Regions from separate parts of the Homo sapiens genome. Here regions 2 and 3 are each linked to region 1. Evidence: promoter capture Hi-C in 16 types of primary human blood cells and fetal thymus (Javierre and others, 2016). All regions are on one chromosome and are shown on one strand. The core of a region is centred on a gene start or on the middle of the fragment in contact, and the rest is flanking DNA. Distances in the headings are between cores, read along the strand shown.

The links. Contacts are between HindIII fragments. The CHiCAGO score rates a contact against its expected background, and 5 or more counts as called.
Region 2: a fragment that was not itself captured here is called in contact with the fragment with the promoter of C17orf107 in region 1 in 1 of 17 cell types (neutrophils); the score reaches 5.5 in neutrophils.
Region 3: a contact is called between a fragment that was not itself captured here and the fragment with the promoter of C17orf107 in region 1, in 1 of 17 cell types (neutrophils). The highest score is 6.3, in neutrophils.

What each region holds. Positions count from the first base shown.
Region 1 is chr17:4,898,286-4,900,785 of GRCh38, reverse strand. C17orf107 (chromosome 17 open reading frame 107) reads right to left here and starts at 1,250. Exons shown (of 3, transcript NM_001145536.2): 1 at 958-1,250; 2 at 641-850; 3 at 1-549. The coding sequence starts at 1,023. The coding sequence ends at 253. It overlaps CHRNE (cholinergic receptor nicotinic epsilon subunit), which reads left to right. Exons shown (of 12, transcript NM_000080.4): 9 at 1,204-1,318; 10 at 1,402-1,588; 11 at 1,679-1,785; 12 at 1,895-2,500. The coding sequence ends at 2,050. RefSeq lists an enhancer at 864-1,173 and silencers at 1,374-1,483, 1,504-1,653. The HindIII fragment of the contact is 47,734 bases long and covers 1-2,500 here.
Region 2 is chr17:4,536,285-4,539,225 of GRCh38, reverse strand. SPNS2 (SPNS lysolipid transporter 2, sphingosine-1-phosphate) reads right to left here. Exons shown (of 13, transcript NM_001124758.3): 11 at 2,800-2,941; 12 at 2,280-2,326; 13 at 191-1,773. The coding sequence ends at 2,284. It overlaps MYBBP1A (MYB binding protein 1a), which reads left to right. Exons shown (of 26, transcript NM_014520.4): 26 at 1-322. Among named protein-coding and RNA genes, the nearest start is that of MYBBP1A, 18 kb to the left of the region's middle. The HindIII fragment of the contact is 844 bases long and covers 845-1,688 here.
Region 3 is chr17:4,520,554-4,523,702 of GRCh38, reverse strand. The region is part of intron 2 of SPNS2 (SPNS lysolipid transporter 2, sphingosine-1-phosphate); the gene reads right to left. Among named protein-coding and RNA genes, the nearest start is that of SPNS2, 23 kb to the right of the region's middle. The HindIII fragment of the contact is 4,155 bases long and covers 1-3,149 here.

The DNA of each region.
Region 1 (2,500 bases), core at 1-2,500:
CGGAGCCCCCGCGGGGGTGTGGCCAGTGTGAAGGGTGGGGGCGTGGCCAAAACCCAGAGACCCCGGGAAAAGCTCTGGCTGTCTCGCCCCGCCCTGGGCTTTATTCGGACGCTGGGTGGGGCTGGTACGGGGATGGAGTCCCTGGTCCGCCGTCCTCCTCACTGCTGCTGGACGTCACCTGGAGGTCTCCCGAGTAGCTCTCTTGGGGGACAGTCCGGCTCAGTGCCTCCCTAGCCCCGCCGCCTCTGGCCCCTAACTCACCCCGTGTCCTGAGCTCACCGGTTCTCCGGGGATTCCGAGGCCTAGCTGCTGTTGCGACTGTCGCAGGAATGAGGCAGACCCCTGCAGACCCCGTCCACACAGGCATAGCCATGCTCCCTGGACTAGGAGCCGGGCGCTGGCGCCCACCGCAGCCCCAGCTTGCCGAACCCCCTGCCCTGCGGCTTGGGCTACCCGGCTCAGCGCTGCACCCGGATCCCTGCCGTCTGGGGCTGGGCCCGCGCTGCCGTCTAGTCGCCGCGCCTCCTGCTGCAGCCACAGGGCTGAGATCTGCATTGGGGGCACAGGGGTTAGCGGGGAGGCAGAGGTCCTTGTTCCCGCTACCCGATCGCCGCGTATCCTAAGCCCCCCAGTACCCCACCTCTAACAAGGTGGTGCCGAAGCTCACGAGGCTGGCTGTGGCTTCTCTCAACACCAGCCCCAGGGTGGGCTTCGGGGCAGGCAGCATCCCCTGCATCTTCGGTTCGGGTGGCTCCAGGGACTTCAGCTCTCTGAACCTCTGCTCCAGATATTCATGGGCTGCGGCCACGGAGAGTTCCAGGGAAGACAGAAGCGGGGGCTGGAGGGCCACCTGGAGAAGGAGCAGAGCAGTAGAGTAGCAGGGCAGGGGTCACAGGGGCGAACAGGAGACCTACCCAGAAGGTCTCGAGGTGCAGCCCTTGGCGGGCGTAGCCTCACCTCGGTGGAGCTGTGGAAGTGGTAGATCCACATCAGGGTGTCCAGGGAGCTGGGGGTCCCCTTCATGGCCGCCACAAGTGGTAGGACAGGAGAAGGGCTGGGGGACGCGTCTGTCGTCGTGTAGGGGGCGCAGCTGGAGGGCGTAACCAGCCCGTACCAGGAGAAGCCGTGTTTGTGAGGTCAGCGCGCGGCGCCTTCGGTAGCTGGGAGGAGGAACGGTGATGTCATGCCTTCCGGGCTCCTCAGGTTCCTTATTTTCGTCATGGTGGTCGCCACGCTCATTGTCATGAATTGCGTCATCGTGCTCAACGTGTCCCAGCGGACGCCCACCACCCACGCCATGTCCCCGCGGCTGCGCCACGTAAGCGCGGAGGGGGCGGTGCAGCCCGGGTCGGGGTGGGGCTTCGTACTAACCTCGTCCCCTAAGCCCCGCCCCTGCCCCAGGTTCTCCTGGAGCTGCTGCCGCGCCTCCTGGGCTCCCCGCCGCCGCCCGAGGCCCCCCGGGCCGCCTCGCCCCCAAGGCGGGCGTCGTCGGTGGGCTTATTGCTCCGCGCGGAGGAGCTGATACTGAAAAAGCCACGGAGCGAGCTCGTGTTTGAGGGGCAGAGGCACCGGCAGGGGACCTGGACGGGTGAGCACAGTGGCCCTGGCCCGGGGGGCCGCGCGGGGTGCCTGCCAGGGGGGAGGCTCCTAAGGCCCACCCCGGTGTTTTCCCCGCCAGCTGCCTTCTGCCAGAGCCTGGGCGCCGCCGCCCCCGAGGTCCGCTGCTGTGTGGATGCCGTGAACTTCGTGGCCGAGAGCACGAGAGATCAGGAGGCCACCGGCGAGGTGGGACAGGAGCCAGAGGCGGGTGGAGCGAGGCAGAGGCCCACCACTGTCTCCCATGCCGCTGGCTCCTGCAGCTGCCTCTTTACTGACTGTGCCGACCCTTCCCCAGGAAGTGTCCGACTGGGTGCGCATGGGGAATGCCCTTGACAACATCTGCTTCTGGGCCGCTCTGGTGCTCTTCAGCGTGGGCTCCAGCCTCATCTTCCTCGGGGCCTACTTCAACCGAGTGCCTGATCTCCCCTACGCGCCGTGTATCCAGCCTTAGCTCGCACCGACTTCAATTTCCCACCCATCTCCAGTAGGAAATTGATTTTGAAAAAGTAGGCTGCCGCCACCACGGCATTATGATCCCTTCCCCCTGCTGATCAATCTGCAGTTTGTGAACTTCACAAGAATGGTGTGTGCCCGTTCCCTGGCGTGTGTAGGCCTGGCCGCAGTCCAGGGGTCAGCAGGAGGAAAGGGTTCACATAGGCTCTCAGGTGCCAGTCTTCCAGAAAGCAAGGACTGCCCTTCATTCAGCCTTGCTGACCTCCCAGCCTTTCTAAGGCTCAGCCCCACGGGACTCTGGTGGCTGCCAGCTTGTGAGCTATCTATCTATATTCATTTCATAGCCAAACAGGAGACCCCTTTGCAGGACTTGCACACAGGGAGGCTGTAGCCAGGAAACCCTCTTCTTCCCTGGTCTGGCTCTGCTGGAGCGGGTGGGAACCAAACA
Region 2 (2,941 bases), core at 17-2,516, 360 kb after region 1:
CCCAGGGTGCAGAGACCTCCCCACCCCCGGTTCTGGGCTGGGACCCTGGCTCCAGGGCCATGTCCAGGGCTCTGGTGTTTGCCTGGGTTGGTGCAGGTTGATGTGCTGGCTGCAGGCAGGTGTGACCATCTCTCGTGCCTGCCACCTCTTTGCCCCCAGGCTTTTTTGCTGTGAGGGAGCCACCAGGGGGTGATTTAAATAGGTTTATTTCTTCATTTACAAGAGGAATATATTTGGCTTCTCTCTTAAGACTCTGAGATTCACAATCAGCAGCTCTAAAAAATAAAGGAGCAGTTTGGCTTCCGGAAGGAAGAGGAGGCAACACTCGGACCTGGTTCTTGTACAACAAGAAAACATCGCTGGGGCCCCGCTGAGGCTGGAGTGGGGGTGGAGGCTGGTCTTTGGAGGATGCCACCCCCACCCCATCCTCTTGTCAGGCCCTCGGGGTACCCCAGAGCTTGGTGGGTGAGTATTCCACCTGCTTACACACCACTGAAGCCACAGCCAGCCAGTAACTAAGGGGCAAGAAGAGCATTGTCCAAGCTGGCTCTTGGGGGGTCCCCCATTGGCCACAAGGCCTCACCCCCCACCCCACCCCCGCACCAGAACCACCTTGATTGCAGCAGAAGTGCAGGGAGTGGGTGACGCAGGGGGCTAAGCTCCCCCAAAGCGGGTTGGGGCTGGTGTGAAGTTGGCAGCTGCATCCTGGTGTGTGCATGGATGGGAGGTGGGTGATCGAAGGCCTGGCCCCCCCCTGGGGTCACTTGGTGGAATGCCAGCAGCCAGTGTTTGGGTAGGGGCCGCCTCTCCCGGGGCCTCAGCCTCAGCTCTGGGGCAGGAAGCTTTGTGGATAGCTGCTTCCTCCAGCAGCCGGAGCCCTGGCTACTGCCCCATGGATTCTGGGAATGGTCTCCTGGGCCCTGCCCCTGGAAAAGGCTCAGCTCAGCCTCGGGGAAGGAGTGGGGTCCTGGCTTGGGGGGTGGTGGCAGGGAGAGAAGCCCTGCAGAGTTGGGCTGGTGTGCACCTGCCAGAGACCTTGAGCCTGGGGGCACAGGTGGTGTACAGCTGCAGCCAGGGCCTTCACCCCTGGTGATGCCAGCTTGTCAGAACAGTCCCCATCTGGGACCTCCAGGCTGGGAGCCAACCCGAGACAGTGAGACAGTGTCCTCCAGGGAGTACCCAGAGACTTGGGCGCCCAGCTTCATTTGCCAGGTTGCGTCCAATATCCCCAAGGTCCGAGGCCCAGCTGAGCAGTGGTCCCTGCATACCAGGCCCTCGCGTGAGCCTCAAAGCCGGGACTGCCGCCCTGAGGCCTGGGCCACCTGCTCTCCGTATGGTCCAGGGTCTGTTGAGTCTTCAAAGCTGCAGATCGTGCTTTGCCCAGCAAGTTGTGTGGGAAAGTCCAGCCCCCTGGCCCTTCGTTCCAGGGAGGGCAGGGACTTGCCCAAGATCACATAAGCTGGTGGCAGGCCAGGCTCTCCCCGGACACCCACTTGGGGCTGTCTTCTTCCTTGGCCCCAGGGGCCCTGCGGCCCAAACCTAGGGCTGGGAACCTGTCCAACCGTGTGGCTCCAACACACACATCCTTCCAGGGTAACTGAGGACACAGCCTCTTCTTGATGCCAGGGCCACTCAGCAGGCCTGGGCCAGAGAGGGTGGGTGCCTAGCCGTGGATCACACAGAAAGCTTTGGGGCAGCCCAGCCGGTCCCGGACGCTGTAGGACACCTCCCAGACGAGGTGGGAGTGTGGGTTCTTCATTGTCCCAATGGCACCTGGGGAAAGGGGTGTCAGGTCAGCAGTGGGGCTTAGTGGGGCCTGTGCCAAGGCTGCCCTCCCTCCTTCCCTTTTCTTGCTGTTTGGAGACGCAAGCCTTCTCCTGGACCTGCAGCTGTGACCCTGGGTCTCGTGCTGCTGGGAAGCTATAACTCCCAGAGGGAAGGGCCAAGGAGTCAGGCCCTGGTACATCCAGGAGGATTTGGGAGAACAGAAGTCCGGACAGAGTGAGGAGTTCCTGGCCAGTCCTGGCCCTGATCTATGCGAGGCCCCACCCAGCCCTTGAAAGGAAGGAAAGGGGAGCTAATTTACTGGAAGGAGCAGCCTGCTGTCCCACCCATGGCTCCATCAGTAAATTCTGGCAACATCTTCAGAGACAAAGCCCAGAGTTGGTGGGATGTGCTGGGGTAGGAGGTGACTCTGGAGGAAAAGTGCTCCCTGTTGCCTAACCCTGGCCTTCCCCTTTCCTTAGGGAGCCCCCACGTGCCTCCCGGCCTGCACTCACCACCTCAGACTTTCACAGATGCGGGCGGCATCGCCAGCTGGTTCACCCTGGGGGAGAGACGGGCGGGGGTCAGGGTGGTGCATCAGCGGGGGCCGGGCCCGGGCACTGCTCTGGCACATCGTGTCGTGGGGGCCAGCTGACCGGAGGTGCTGGGCAGGGACCTCGTCAGCCCCAGGGGGAGATGGGAGAGCCCAGGGGTGGGGAGAGGAGAGAGAGAGGAGTAAAGAGGAAAGGAGAAAGAAGTCAGAAAGTAAGAGGAAGGGGAGGGGCCCCAGCTTTGAAAACCACTAAGTCCAGAGACAAACCCAAGTCTGGATCCACCAGACACCCCCGTGGCCTCCCACAGCTCCAGGCTGACCCTGGCACTGGGCCTCAGGGCTGGACCCCAGCAACCAGTGGGTGCACTGAGTGCATGGGAGGTCTGTACCCTCCCCGCCCCACCCCAGGGCAGGGCTCACGGTGGCTATCACGGTCCCTGCTTCCCGGCGGTGCAGCAGGGCCTCCCCTCCCCCCCACTCACTGCTGCTCAGCCCTGGCGCGGTCGCTGACGAAGAAGAGCGCAGTGGCGAGGAAGAACATGCCGCCCAGGACCACGACGAAAGGGCAGAGCATGAGCGCGTAGCCCAGGCTCAGGAACTCCCAGAGCGGGGAGTCCTTAGTGC
Region 3 (3,149 bases), core at 631-3,130, 380 kb after region 1:
TGGTGCAATCTCCGCTCACTGCAACCTCTGCCTCAGCCTCACGAGTAGCTGGCATTACAGGCACACACCATCACGCTCTGCTGATTTTTGTATTTTTAGTAGAGACGGGGTTTCACCGTGTTGGCTAGGCTGGTCTCCAACTCCTGACCTCAGGTGATCCACCTGCCTCGGCCTCCCAAAGTGCTGGGACTACAGGCGTGAGCCACCGTGCCTGGCTGAGAGAAATTTATTGATATAGTTAGCTGGTGTTTTATTTGTTTGTGAGACAGTGTCTTGCTCCGTTGCTCAGGCAGCTGGAGTGCAGTGGTGCGATTTCCGCTCACTGCAACCTCCGCCTCCCAGGTTCAAGCAATTCTCCTGCCTTAGCCTCTTGAGTAGCTGGGATTACAGGCGCCTGCCACCACGCCCAGCTAATTTTTGTATTGTTAGTAGAGACGGGGTTTCTCTATGTTGGCCAGCCTGGTCTCAAACTCCTGACCTCAAGTGATCTACCTGCCGCGGCCTCCCAAAGTGTGGGATTACAGGCGTGAGCCACTGCACCCGGCCACCACAATTTTAAATTGAGCGGTCAAAGTGGGTATTTCAGCCAGGACCTGGAGGAGGTAAGGAAACAAATCACGCAATTATTGGGGCAAGAACAGCAAGTGCCTAGGCCCTGGGGCAGGAGTTTACTTAGCATGTTGGAGGAGCAGGAAAGAGGCTGGGGTGGGGCCCCGGAGCCCACTGTGATGACTGTGACGTCCATGGGTGAGAAAGGAAAACATGAGGGGATGTCGAACAAAGGCCGTGACCTGGCTTTGTTCTTCCAGAACAAGAGGTTTAGAAGATTCCACAGGGAGGCCACTGCCAGTGATGGGAGGGGCCTTGGAGGTCCCAGGTGGGATGAAGAGGCCCAGAGCAAGGTAGGGTGGACCCTAGGTCACACAGCGAGGTGGCCCCCCATCCCTCCCCCTGGAAAGCAGTCCCACAGCTGATGGGCAGATGGCCAGACAAAGGCTGGGAGTGACAGACATGGCAGCCAGTTGGCCTCTGACCGCCAGGCTGAATGTGTGCGTGGTCCCGGCTGCTCCTCCGTGGGCCTGAGACCCTGGCGAGATGGGACCTGAGAGAAGAGAAAGAGGGAGGGAGGAAGGAGGAAAAGAGAGAGGTGAAAGAGAGGCGAGAGGGCCAGGCAGAGCTCCCCTGAACCTGGCTGGAGGAGTGACTGCCCCTCTTTTATGCCAGCAAGAACAGGCCAGTGAGTGCGCGTGGGTGGTGGGTGTACGAGCAGACCTGTTAATTCCAGAGGCCTTGGGGAGAATCAGCATGCGGGTGCACAAATCCGGGCATGAGGCACACTCCCTGGGCTCAAATTCACCTCCGCTCCTTCCCAGCCGGTGACCTCAGTCAGGCCACAGCCATTCTGTGTCTCACCTTCAGTGGTGTGCTGATATATGTTTAACTGGCTCTGATAAAGGGTGAGGGGAGCCCTGATGTGGCGTGTTTGCTCATTTCTTTTTTTTCTGAGATGGAGTTTCGCTCTGTCGCCCAGGCTGGAGTGCAGTGGCACCGTCTCAGCTCACTGCAATCTCTGCCTCCCGGGTTCAAGCGATTCTCTTGCCTCGGCCTCCCAAGTAGCTGGGATTATAGGCATCTGCCACCACGCCCGGCTAATTTTTGAATGTTTAGTAGAGACAAGGTTTTGCCATGTTGGCCAGGCTGGTCTCAAACACCTGATCTCAGGTGATCCTCCTGCCTCGGCCTCCCAAAGTGCTGGGATTACAGGGGTGAGCCACCGTGCCCGGCCGTGTTTGCCCATTTCTGTGGTGTAAACACTCCGCCCTGGCTGAGTTCAAGCTACCCACGTCGTGTCACTGATGGGCGTTGGAAAGGGATGTGCGGGGACACGCCATTGTCCAGTGTTTCTACCACACAAATAGAACAGACGCCACTCACCATAGGACCACAGATAACGCTGAAACACAGCAAAATAATTAGGAAGTGAGGACTTTTGAGTAGTTATTACCTTGTTTCTAATTATTTAATTGTAAGCCGATATCATTTAGTTTTTAACAATGGTTGTATTTTACGACTAGCTCACACACCATTCCTGAAATGTTAACAATTGACTCTCATGAGCTGGCCTGAGCCAGCGCCAACATGCCAGCATCCTCATCTGTAAAATGAAGATAAAAATAGCAGCTCTCCAGGGTGGGTCTGGGTGCTGGATAGCACGTGCAAGGTGCTTAATGCCACACCCTGCCCAGAGCAGGCCGGCCTTGGTCAACACTGGGCCCTTGTTTAAATTAGTCAAGGCAGAAATTATTTCCTCACATTTAGAAAAAGAATTTTTCCTGCTGGGCCTGCCTCCAAGGACCTGCCTGAGATCAGATCAGAATGTGGCAGGAGGGAGATTTCCAGTTGCATCAGGACTGACACATGTTGGGGGAGGAGGAGGAATTGTTCTCCCTGTGCCTGTCTGTGCTAGGTGGCAAGTGGACAGAAGGAATCAGAAGAGAAGTTTCCCCCTGTCTGGCCAGGGGCAGATCTTGTTCATAGGTTGCTCTGTTTAAAGGACAACCTATGTTGGGGAACCACCAAGGAGCTCCAGATCCTGCCAGGATAATGAAGAGAGGCTTCCCGGAGGCGGTGGTGACAAAGCTGGGCACTGAAGCATGCATAGGAGTTTACCGCTAAGATAATACTTAACATCAAGAATATACGCTGAAATATAAACTTCAGATCAGCAATATTGTATAATGGTTCACGAGGCATGATGCTTAGTGTTCATGATAACTGCAGTTATTATTTATGGATATATAGGCAAGGCCCAGCATGCAGCCTTGACATATGCACAGATGATCTCTTTTGATTCTGTTCTCTTCATTTTACAGAGGAGACAATGGAGGCCAAAAGAAGTGATGTCACACAGCGAGTGTGCGGCTGAGCCAGAATTTAAATCCCAGTTTGGCAGACTCCAGAGTCCTTGCTCTAAATCACTCCCCAGACTGCCATGCTGGGAAGGGGGAAGGTCCCAGCTGATGTTCCCAAGGTCAGGGAAAGTTCAGGGCCTGCTGAGGACAGCAAGGAGACAGGTCAGGCCATGGCCTGAGGATGCTCAAGAGGAAGCAGCGAGAGATGAGGCTGTGGAGGGAGGACTGGGCTAAAGA